Linked DNA regions of Homo sapiens: all the other regions are linked to region 2. Evidence: promoter capture Hi-C in 16 types of primary human blood cells and fetal thymus (Javierre and others, 2016). All regions are on one chromosome and are shown on one strand. Each heading gives the region's core, a stretch centred on a gene start or on the middle of the fragment in contact. The rest is flanking DNA. Distances are from core to core; before and after follow the strand shown. Region 1 overlaps SF3B1 (splicing factor 3b subunit 1). Region 2 holds the start of ANKRD44-AS1 (ANKRD44 antisense RNA 1). Region 3 overlaps SF3B1 (splicing factor 3b subunit 1).

Region 1 (3,322 bases), core at 788-3,287, 230 kb after region 2:
TGTCTAAGATCTGCTTCAAAATAATGGGAAGAGTAGAAGTGACCAGTGTACAAATTAAACAAAGCTGGCCTAAGCTTGTAACTGTTGAAGCTAGGTGATGAGTATATGAGGGGTTCATTTTACTACTCACGGTAGTTTTTTTTGTTATTTTGTTTTGAGACAAAGTCTCACTCTGTTGCCCAAACTGAAGTGCAGTGGCACGATCTCGGCTCACTGCAACCTCCACCTCCTGGTTCAAGAGATTCTCCTGCCTGAGGCTCCCAAGCAGGTGGGATTACAGGCACGCACCACCAAACCCAGCTAATTTTTTTATTTTTAGTAGAGATAGGGTTTCACCATGTTGATCAAGCTGGTCTCAAACTCCTGACCTCTGGTGATCCATCCACATCAGCCTCCCAAAGTGCTGGGATTACAGGCGTAAGCCACCGTGCCCAGCCTACCCTAGTGTTATTAAAACCTGTCTTCACACACTGTGCCCGGCCTGTTGTTTTGTTTTTCTGAGACAGAGTCCTGCTCTGTTGCCCAGGCTGGAGTATAGCGCCAGCCGCTCTCTACTTTTCTGTATGTTTGCAGTCTCAAGCAATCCTCCTGTCTTGACTTCCCAAAATGCTGGGATTACATGCGTGAGCAACCCCTGGCCTCCTGTATTTTAAAACTCAGACCTACATATCAAGCTCTTGAGAAAAACAATTCATATCACTGATAGCAGAAGGTCACATCTGATAAAACTATTTAACTGCTCCCCACCAATTCTGTCCCTCTGATTTCCCCTCCTGTGCCTTTTCTTCTTTTTTTTTTTTTTTTTTTTTTTTTTGAGACAGAGTTTCACTCAGTCGCCCAGGCTGGAGTGCAGTGGCGTGGCGTGATCTCAGCTCACTGCAACCTTCGCCTCCTGGGTTCAAGCGATTCTCCTGCAACAGCCTCCCGAGGAGCTGGGATCACAGGCTCACGCCACCATGCCCGGTTAATTTTTTTGTACTTTTAGTAGAGAGGGGGTTTCACCACGTTGGCCAGGCTGGTCTGGAACTCCTAACCTTGGGTGATCTGCCCACCTCAGCCTCCCAAAGTGCTGGGATTATAGGTGTGAGACACCATGCCCAGCCCTTTTCTTCTTTCTAAGCCTTAGATCCTGCTAAACCCAACTTGTAGCACTTCTTCCTCCTTGATTTTTATTTTTCATTTTTCGTCTGAATTATTTTCAGTGTTCTAATCACTGCTCATTACATGTTACACAGATACTGCCCTCAGATGTTAATGTCTCACCTACACCTTTCAGTCTGGTCCCTAAGTGATATCTACTCTCCTTCAGCCAGATATAACCGGTGAACAACTATTTCCAAAATACAAGGCTTCTAAAAGACATCACAGAAAAACAGGAAGTATATTCTGAATCCCAACCCTCAGCTTTTTCATTAAACAAAACTCCAATAGGACAACTAACTATAATATAAATCATTTTACTGAACACTACAAACAATACTGATAAATTGATTCCTAAATGATTAATTCTATTAAAAAAAATTTCAAGGCCAGGCATCGTGGCTCACACCTGTAATCCTAGCACGGTGGGAGGCCAAGGCAGGACTGCTTGAGCCCAGGAGTTCGAGATCAGCCTGGGTAACATAGCGAGACCCCATCTCTAAAAAAAAATTGTAAAAATTAGCCAGGCATGGTAGCACACGCCTGTAGTTGTAGCTACTCAGGAGGCTGAAATGGGAGGATCACTTGAGCCCAGCAGTTGTAGGTTAAGTGAGCTATGATCACGCCACTGCACTCCAACCTGGGCAACAGGGCAAGACCCGGTCTCAAAAATAAACACAGGAAAAAATATATAGATCAGCAAGATACACAATAACAAAACTATAACTATTCCAGCCATTTATCAAGCAAAGAATTAGGGAAAAAACTTTTTCAGCTTTGTGATGTCCCAAAAAATCTAATTCAAAGGATTAGTGGCAAAACAAGCTGATATGTAGGATTTTTGGTTAAACCATTTTCCCCTTACAAAACAGAGAATAATGTGTGTTCCCTGTTTGTATGCCAAAGTCAGCAGTATCTGAAGAACTGCTGGATGGCAAGATTATGCATATTCATAACCATACACCTGACATAATACGTGGAAAGATCTAAAAGATTTTATCTGATTTGAGTAATTCCAGTTCTTTTTATATTTCAATCCTGGAAAGCATAAGCCACATTGGCCAGGGTAAAATATAATCAGATTGGTTAAAGAGGATGTGAGGCCTGATCCTAATAGAAATGTTTGAAAGGGTTCAGGCATGGTGGCTCATGCCAGTAATCCCAGCACTTTGGGAGGCCAAGGTGGGAGGATCACTTGTGGTCAGGAGTTTGAGACCAGCCTGGCCAACATGGCGAAACCCTGTCTCTAAAAATACAAAAATTAGTCGGGTGTGGTGGCACATGCCTGCGATACTAGTACTCAGGAGGCTGAAGCAGGACAATCGCTTGAACCTAAAAGGCGGAGGTTGCTGTGAGCCGAGATTGCACCACTGCACTTCTGCCTGGGCAACAGAAAAAGACCCTATCTCAAAAAAAAATAAAAAATAAAAAAAGAAATGTTTGAAAGGAATATGACAGCAAAATAAATAAATAGTTATCAGTTTATCTCAATCTTGGAGCTAAGGAGAAGAGAAAATCTTAACACAACAGACTATTCTAAGCAATATAACATTTATACTGAGTACTATAGCAGCACTGCCCCAAAAAGCATTAATTCTGCTTCAGTTTATCAAAAATGGCTTAACAAGAGAAAACAGTGATGGACCATGAAGAACTAGAGTTCCATTAGGAAGGAAGCAACAAGCTATGTCAGTATTATGTGTATTTCTACTAAACATTTATCATCCCCTGACATATCCCATAGGGATGGGCACAGACAGTGCTCAAGTATTGAATGTTCTGCTATTTTCTTATGGTATCACTTAATTCACATTGATAGAATAATCTCAAAAATAACAAGTTTGGCCAATGAATAGCAATAGACCAAAGTTTTTAGCTGGGTTTCTAAAAAATTCAGGAAAACTGATCAGAATTCTGATTTTCCTGTCTGAGGGCATCTTATACTGAAGTTACCAATAAATAAGTATCAAAGCTATACTATCAATATCCCCAAATGAATAACATCCTGAATGAACAAAAACAGCACAACTTTATATTTTCTACTTACTTTGCAAAAGGTTATATTTGAGATAGTCTAAAGACAAAATAATAAAGCCTAGGAATACTAAGAGAGCATTTAAATCCTAAATACCTAAAATGGTATACTAATATTAAAGTCATTGACAATTCATTAGCATGTTTG
Region 2 (3,066 bases), core at 280-2,779:
TAACTACAGAAGTATCTTCTTGTGGTCATGAGTAATTTTAATTTTTGAGAATCTCACAAATTGGAAGCTAAATAAAGCAATTCAAGTGTCCTTTAAAAACAACAACAAAATCAGCATGTAGAAATGAAAGGTACTCTCAGAAAGGTGGCAATCTCCTGCTACATTTGAGGAGGCTGGAACTACTGTATACAAGATATATGGATTAACTCAGTCACATTAAATCATTCATGATTTAGGCAACTCCAGATTGGGTTTGTCTAAAATCTGTTAGCACCTGGGTTCTTTCCAAACACCAGCAAGCAATTTTTACACAATCAGGTCTTTCCAAAGCCCATGACAATTTTCCTTTAAACCCTCTCCTTCCCTTCTACTGTTCTTTTCTTTGAATTCCACGTGCATTCTTGGAAAGACAGCAAGCAGTTAAACTCTCACCACCTCTCCACAGGTGAGGGACTAGGGACATGTGTAAAACGGAGTCACCTTCCTGTTCTGGCCATTGTCAATTTTTTTTTTCCTAAGGCATCTTGTTATAGCAACCATTCTAAAATTGTTATAGCAACCATTCTAAAATTTAAGGCAGTGGGTTGATCAGGACCTGAATTAGTTTCTGCCTGAGATGACTGGAAGGTCCCCTACTCCCTCCCCAGCCAGAAAAAGTCACATGGAATGAAAATCTATTAGAGAATCCCCTCAGTGTAGTCTTTCAGGAAGCATCTTCTCATTTCCCCATCCAAAATCATGGTAAGGACATCCAGTGACAGATGTCAAAGGGAAAGGATAAGGCAGCAGGAAGAGAGAGGAGCCTAAGAGACTGGAAAACATTCGATAATATAAAATGGGAAAATGGGAAATTCTGCAAAAAAAAAGAAGTCATATCATATTTCCTTTCACAGACACCAACCCAGTGCGTAGCTCCTTTATTTCTTTACACACTACCCCCTCCAACAGGGGATAAAAGATATGTTTTCTAAAACTTAATTTGGTACATTTCAGATAACCACATTCAATTCAACAAAGATGTATTAAGCATAAGACATTTACTGAGCATAAGAAATTCAGACACTGGAGGCCGGGCGCAGTAGCTCATGCTTGTAATCCCAACACTTTGGGAGACCAAGGCAGGCGGATCACTTGAATCCAGGAGTTCCAGACCAGCCTAGACACATGGTGAAACCACATCTCCACTAAAAATGCAAAAATTAGCTGGGCACGGTGGCGCACACCTGTAGTCCCAGCGACTCGGGAGGCTGAGGTGGGAGAACCAACTGAGCCCAGGAAATTGAGGCTGCAGTGAGCCATGCTCACACCATTGCACTCCAGCCTGGGTGACAGAGTGAAATCCTGTCTCAAAAAAAAAAAAAAAAAAAAAGAAAGAAAGAAACACAGAAAAAGAAAAAGAAAGAAAGAAATTCAGACACTGGAATGTCAGAGTCAGTCTCTCCCTTGATGAGGTTACCAAGGTGTAACAGGAAGTATACAAATACGCACAGCTAGAATGTAAGGCACAGGCCGCAGGAGAAGTGCATGGAGAAGGGAGAGAAATTGTACCTGGCCTCCTGAAAGACGCAGCCTCTGAAATGAATATTGAAGACTGGGGAGGATTTAAACAGGTAGAGACGGATGGAATGGTAAGGGACTTTCCCTTCTTCATATTCAGAAGGCTGTGAGCAGAAGCTAGGGAGCCTGAACATACACAGGGAACAGTTTCATTTGGCTGGAGGAGGGGAGAAGTGAGGTAAGCTGAGTAGTAGACAGGGATCCTATCATGGAAGGTCTTGAATACCAAGCTAAGAAATTTGAGCTCTCTTCTGTGGAACTGGGGGAGCAGTGGGTGGTTTTTGAGCAGGGGAGTGACCTAAGATTTGTGCTTTAGAACAATCACTCTAAAAATGGATTGTATGATGACCTGGAGGAAAAGGCTGGAGTGTCATAACAAGTTAGGAAACTGCAATAATAGTCTGCACAAAGGGCTCTGGGGATGGAGTACCGCTCAGTTGTCAGAGGAAGCATTCTTCTGGTGGTAATATGTGAATCTAAAAGGTAAATTTGACCGGGCATGGTGGCTCACGTCTGTAATCCCAGCACTTTGGGAGGCCGAGGCAGGTGGATCACCTGAGGCCAGGAGTTTGAGACCAGCCTGGCCAACATGGTGAAACCCCGTCTCTACTAAAAATACAAAAAATTAGCCAGGCATGGTGGCGTGCCCCTGTAATCCCAGCTACTCGGGAGGCTGAAGCAGGTGAATCGCTTGAGCCCGGGAGGTGGAGGTTGCAGTGAGCTGAAATCGTGCTACTGCACTCCAGCCTGGGCGACAGCAAGACTCCATCTCGAAAAATAAAAAATAAAATAAAATAAAATAAAATGTAAATCTAGCTCCACCTTTAATGTAGCAAGGGCTAGCCTCCTCAGGAGTGGCTGCCTACATTCAAAACGATTCTCACCAACTTCTTCCACAGGACACAGGGCTCGGGAGCAGCGCCAGCCCGACATCGGCGGAGGAGCACCGGAAGTTCTGCAGCACTGGCTTTCTTTGCTCTTCCACCTATGCAAGCTCCTTCTCTCTTGTGGCTTGCCGAGCCTGGTTAGCTCTGAGACCGGAAGTTCTGAAGTCAGCTGGCATCCTACATCTGTGCAACCTACTTCTCTCCCCATCCCACCACAGAAACCAGAGCCTCGAGGCTTTTGGCTTGGGTGCTGCCTTCACAGTTTAGGTTTTGGTAAGAAGAAAGCTTATCTTCATGTCATGAGAAAGAAAAAAAAATGTATCTTTACGTAACGAGCTGAAAGAACAAAACAAGTATACCTAAGCCAAGTACATGCTATCTTTATTTCTTTATTTCCACACTGAAATTTAGTCAGGGATAAAACTTACTTTTTTAATCACACGAAGTTTGAAAAATAGGAAGTACTATGGGAAACACCTAATGCATCAAAACCCCTGTGCATTTTATCTTTGTCTTATGTTTGCTGGATTTTAATCTTAGTAGGTTTCCTGTTGCAACAATACAAAAACAGATAAAGAAAAAACTTAATAACCTTTCCTACCACAAATGTGAACAGCCCGTG
Region 3 (3,253 bases), core at 111-2,610, 200 kb after region 2:
GGGTTGCATTGGAGATTATATGCAAATACAATAGTTTAAACATGTGTATCGCATAAATACCTCTTACAAAATGAGGAAAAACAAACAGTGGCTCTCTCACAGTCAGCTATTTTGACTTCTGCTAGGTTATCAGAGCCTCTAAACTCTGCAGGAGTTACATTTGGCAACAGTTATAATCAATTTAAAAAAAAGATTAAATATAAGAAACCATTTGTTTTCTTCATACTGCCCTAATGGAATAAAAACTTTGCTCTCCATATCCAAGACCATTTGTAATATAGCTGTATTACGGGTTAGAAAACTGAATGGACAGTATTTAAAACTTGGGTATGTAAATAAAGACAATAATTTGATCAGTTCACTTTTCTCTGATTATATTCCTTGAAACTGATCACAAGCAAAAAACCTGTCATAATCGCTAATTCAAGGTTTAAATATATATATATTGTTCTAAAACTAAATTAAAACTTTAGGATTGCCTTTTCACCCCGCAGCAGAACATGGCAGAATATATTTCACCTGACACACTATTTCTACTAGGGTCCTGTATTCCATGACTTCAAAGCTTTTTGAGCTGTGACTACTCCCACCTCTCATGTAGGTCCTAAACTTACCCTTTTTTTCTCTTTAAAGTAAAATATAAATGGGTTTTGGGAAACAAGACTTTTGTGACATCCCCCGACTTAACTACAATCTTGAAGTGCTTTTAAAAAGCTAACAAAAACCTCCCAACTCCTAAATAAGATTTTACTTACGAAAAAAAAAAGAAAAAGAAAGTTAAAACAAGAAAAAGTCTTATGTAACCAGCAAATTCCATACCTATGACATTTACAATGGCCTTCAGTGCTCCAAGAATGCTGCCCAATACTTCAGGGTACTCTTCACCCAAATACTCATACAATACAACACCCAAGTGTCCCATCAATTTTTCCTATAATAAAACAAATAATGTTAAAATGTTACTATTTACATTAAACTATTTGGGGAAGAAGTAAGAATTTGATGCAAAAGTTTACCTCTTGACAAGTCTTCATGACAACAGCAGTTCGAGAAATCAAGTCAGCTGCCTGTTGCCTAACTTTAGCAGATTTGTTATTTAAACGCCACAAAACTGTACCACAGATCTGAGGCAAGTATGGTTTGACTCGTTTGCCAAGAGCATTAACCACTGTGCCAAAGCCGTTCAACATTACTGAGTCCTAAAAAATAAATTTAAAAAAAAGACATATTCATTTGGTTTATGACTGCACAGTTGAAATACACTAAGAGTCAACCTTTTCTAACCACCCAAACATCTGTTGCTGTTTTTTTACATCAAATCTTAAAACTTGAGGTAGAATAATATCGTTTGGTAACCCCCTGAGCATTTTAAAAATTACTTCAAATTCAATTGCATTCTAGAAAAATTTGCTTGACAACTAATATGCTTTTCTACAAATATTAAAGTTAGTAGCAATGTGCCATAATAGTTTTCATTACCTCTGTAGTCTGTTCTTGGAAAGCATAAAGAATACCATCAATCAGTTGTTCTTCAAGTTTATGATCAATATCTGCTGCTCCCAAATTACCCATAATTTTCTCAATTGTCTCCATCACCATTTTTCTGTACTGTTCGGCTTCATCTTTCAGATCATCCACAATCCTGGATATAATTTCTGCTGCACCTACTTTGTTTGCCAACTCCACAGTAGTATCAACTAACTAAAAAGAACAGAAAAACAAAAAACCTTTTAGACTGCTTTTCCAAGGAAATAAAGCAACATCATGAAAACCAAATACTCTAAATATACTACTTATTTAGCTAATAAACATGGTAAGAATGATTCATTGCTACTTATTAAAGTTGAAGAGAAAAGTGACCAAACATCGAAAAATGAGTATAAGTTAACATGATTCAAGGTAAAACTGTGTCCATGTTTCATCTAGCCAGATAAAGCACTGAATGTACCAGACAAAAACATCAATTCACAGTTAAGTATTAATCCTCGAATCCAAAATCAAAATGGAAGTTAACTGGCTGACTAAAATCCATCTCCTTTCATAATCAAGCACATATAAACTGTGAGATAATCAAGGCAAAAAATAATATACAACATGCATTCAAGTTGACTAAAGAATGAGTTGAAAGGACTTTTGAGAATATTCTTTTACAATAAAAGCTTACCTGTCGGTAATTTCTTCTATCCAAAGCCATCCTGTGCTGCCAGAAGTGTTTAAAAAAGGGAGGAAGAATCTCTGTTTTAATGTAGTTTGCTTCTACACCATCTGTCCCACAACACTGTTTTACCACCTAAAAGGTTAAGAAATAGTAATAATAAATCAACTGACCTGAAATGAAGAGAATACTCATTGCTGATTACGTGATTTTAAAAAATAAAATTTAAAAACAAATCAAACAGTATTCGTGTAACATACAGTTTTTTTTGTTGATTTTTAAAAACACTTTAAAATTCTGTTAGAACCATGAAACATATCCAGTTTACATTAACAAATCTGGAATAATTACCTTCAGCACAATTTTTTTCATTTCCTCATCAGGAGACTGGAATTCTCGAATAAGGATTAACATCACTTCTCTAGTATAGTAGTTGGCATATTCTGCATCCATAAGAGGAATAAGATACCCAATAGCCTTCAAGAAAGCAGCCAAACCCTATTTTTAAATAAAAAATATATGTACTTTAGTAATTTAGATTTATGTCGCCTTAACTTTAATGAAGATAAATCAAAAGGTAATTGGTGGATTTACCTTTCCTCTGTGTTGGCGGATACCCTTCCATAAAGGCTTTAACACAGAATCAAAAGATTCGATACCATAAGGAGTTGCTGCTTCAGCCAAGGCAGCAATGGCCAAAGCACTGATGGTCCGAACTTTCTGCTGCTCATCCACAAGACCTACAAAACCAAACACAGGTTTTAACTATGCCCCAACATTACCTAAGTTACACAATATCATCCAGATTCTCTCAATATATCAACTATTCAGCCAAACTGCAGAATATGTTCACATTAAACAAAATTAGGTAAAAGCAAAACATGAACCATAGCCTGTCAGCAGATAATATAACAAACCCATCATAAAATCTATAGTTTGTAGAGCTATGCCTTTCCATTTATCTCCCCAAATCAGTAGCCCAAATTTTAGGACAGCTGTCCTATTAAACATGGACAGGCTGTGTGTGTACCTCTAGTCCCAACTACTAAGGAGGCTGAGCAGGAGGATCACTTGAGCCCAAAGGTTTGAGTCCAGTCT

What was found. The method cuts DNA at HindIII sites, captures the fragments that hold promoters and counts their contacts. A CHiCAGO score of 5 or more calls a contact.
Region 1: a contact is called between a fragment that was not itself captured here and the fragment with the promoter of ANKRD44-AS1 in region 2, in 4 of 17 cell types (total B cells, fetal thymus, naive CD4 T cells and 1 more). The highest score is 7.2, in total B cells.
Region 3: a fragment that was not itself captured here is called in contact with the fragment with the promoter of ANKRD44-AS1 in region 2 in 1 of 17 cell types (total B cells); the score reaches 5.2 in total B cells.

Annotation. Positions count from the first base shown.
Region 1 is chr2:197,430,317-197,433,638 of GRCh38, forward strand. The region is part of intron 1 of SF3B1 (splicing factor 3b subunit 1); the gene reads right to left. Among named protein-coding and RNA genes, the nearest start is that of SF3B1, 3.0 kb to the right of the region's middle. The HindIII fragment of the contact is 3,930 bases long and covers 73-3,322 here.
Region 2 is chr2:197,196,462-197,199,527 of GRCh38, forward strand. ANKRD44-AS1 (ANKRD44 antisense RNA 1) reads left to right here and starts at 1,530. Exons shown (of 2, transcript NR_135584.1): 1 at 1,530-1,628; 2 at 2,457-2,812. The region is part of intron 1 of ANKRD44 (ankyrin repeat domain 44); the gene reads right to left. RefSeq lists an enhancer at 2,576-2,645. The HindIII fragment of the contact is 4,177 bases long and covers 1-2,727 here.
Region 3 is chr2:197,399,236-197,402,488 of GRCh38, forward strand. SF3B1 (splicing factor 3b subunit 1) reads right to left here. Exons shown (of 25, transcript NM_012433.4): 15 at 2,750-2,895; 16 at 2,507-2,653; 17 at 2,165-2,290; 18 at 1,480-1,701; 19 at 1,017-1,199; 20 at 820-931. Among named protein-coding and RNA genes, the nearest start is that of SF3B1, 34 kb to the right of the region's middle. The HindIII fragment of the contact is 1,594 bases long and covers 564-2,157 here.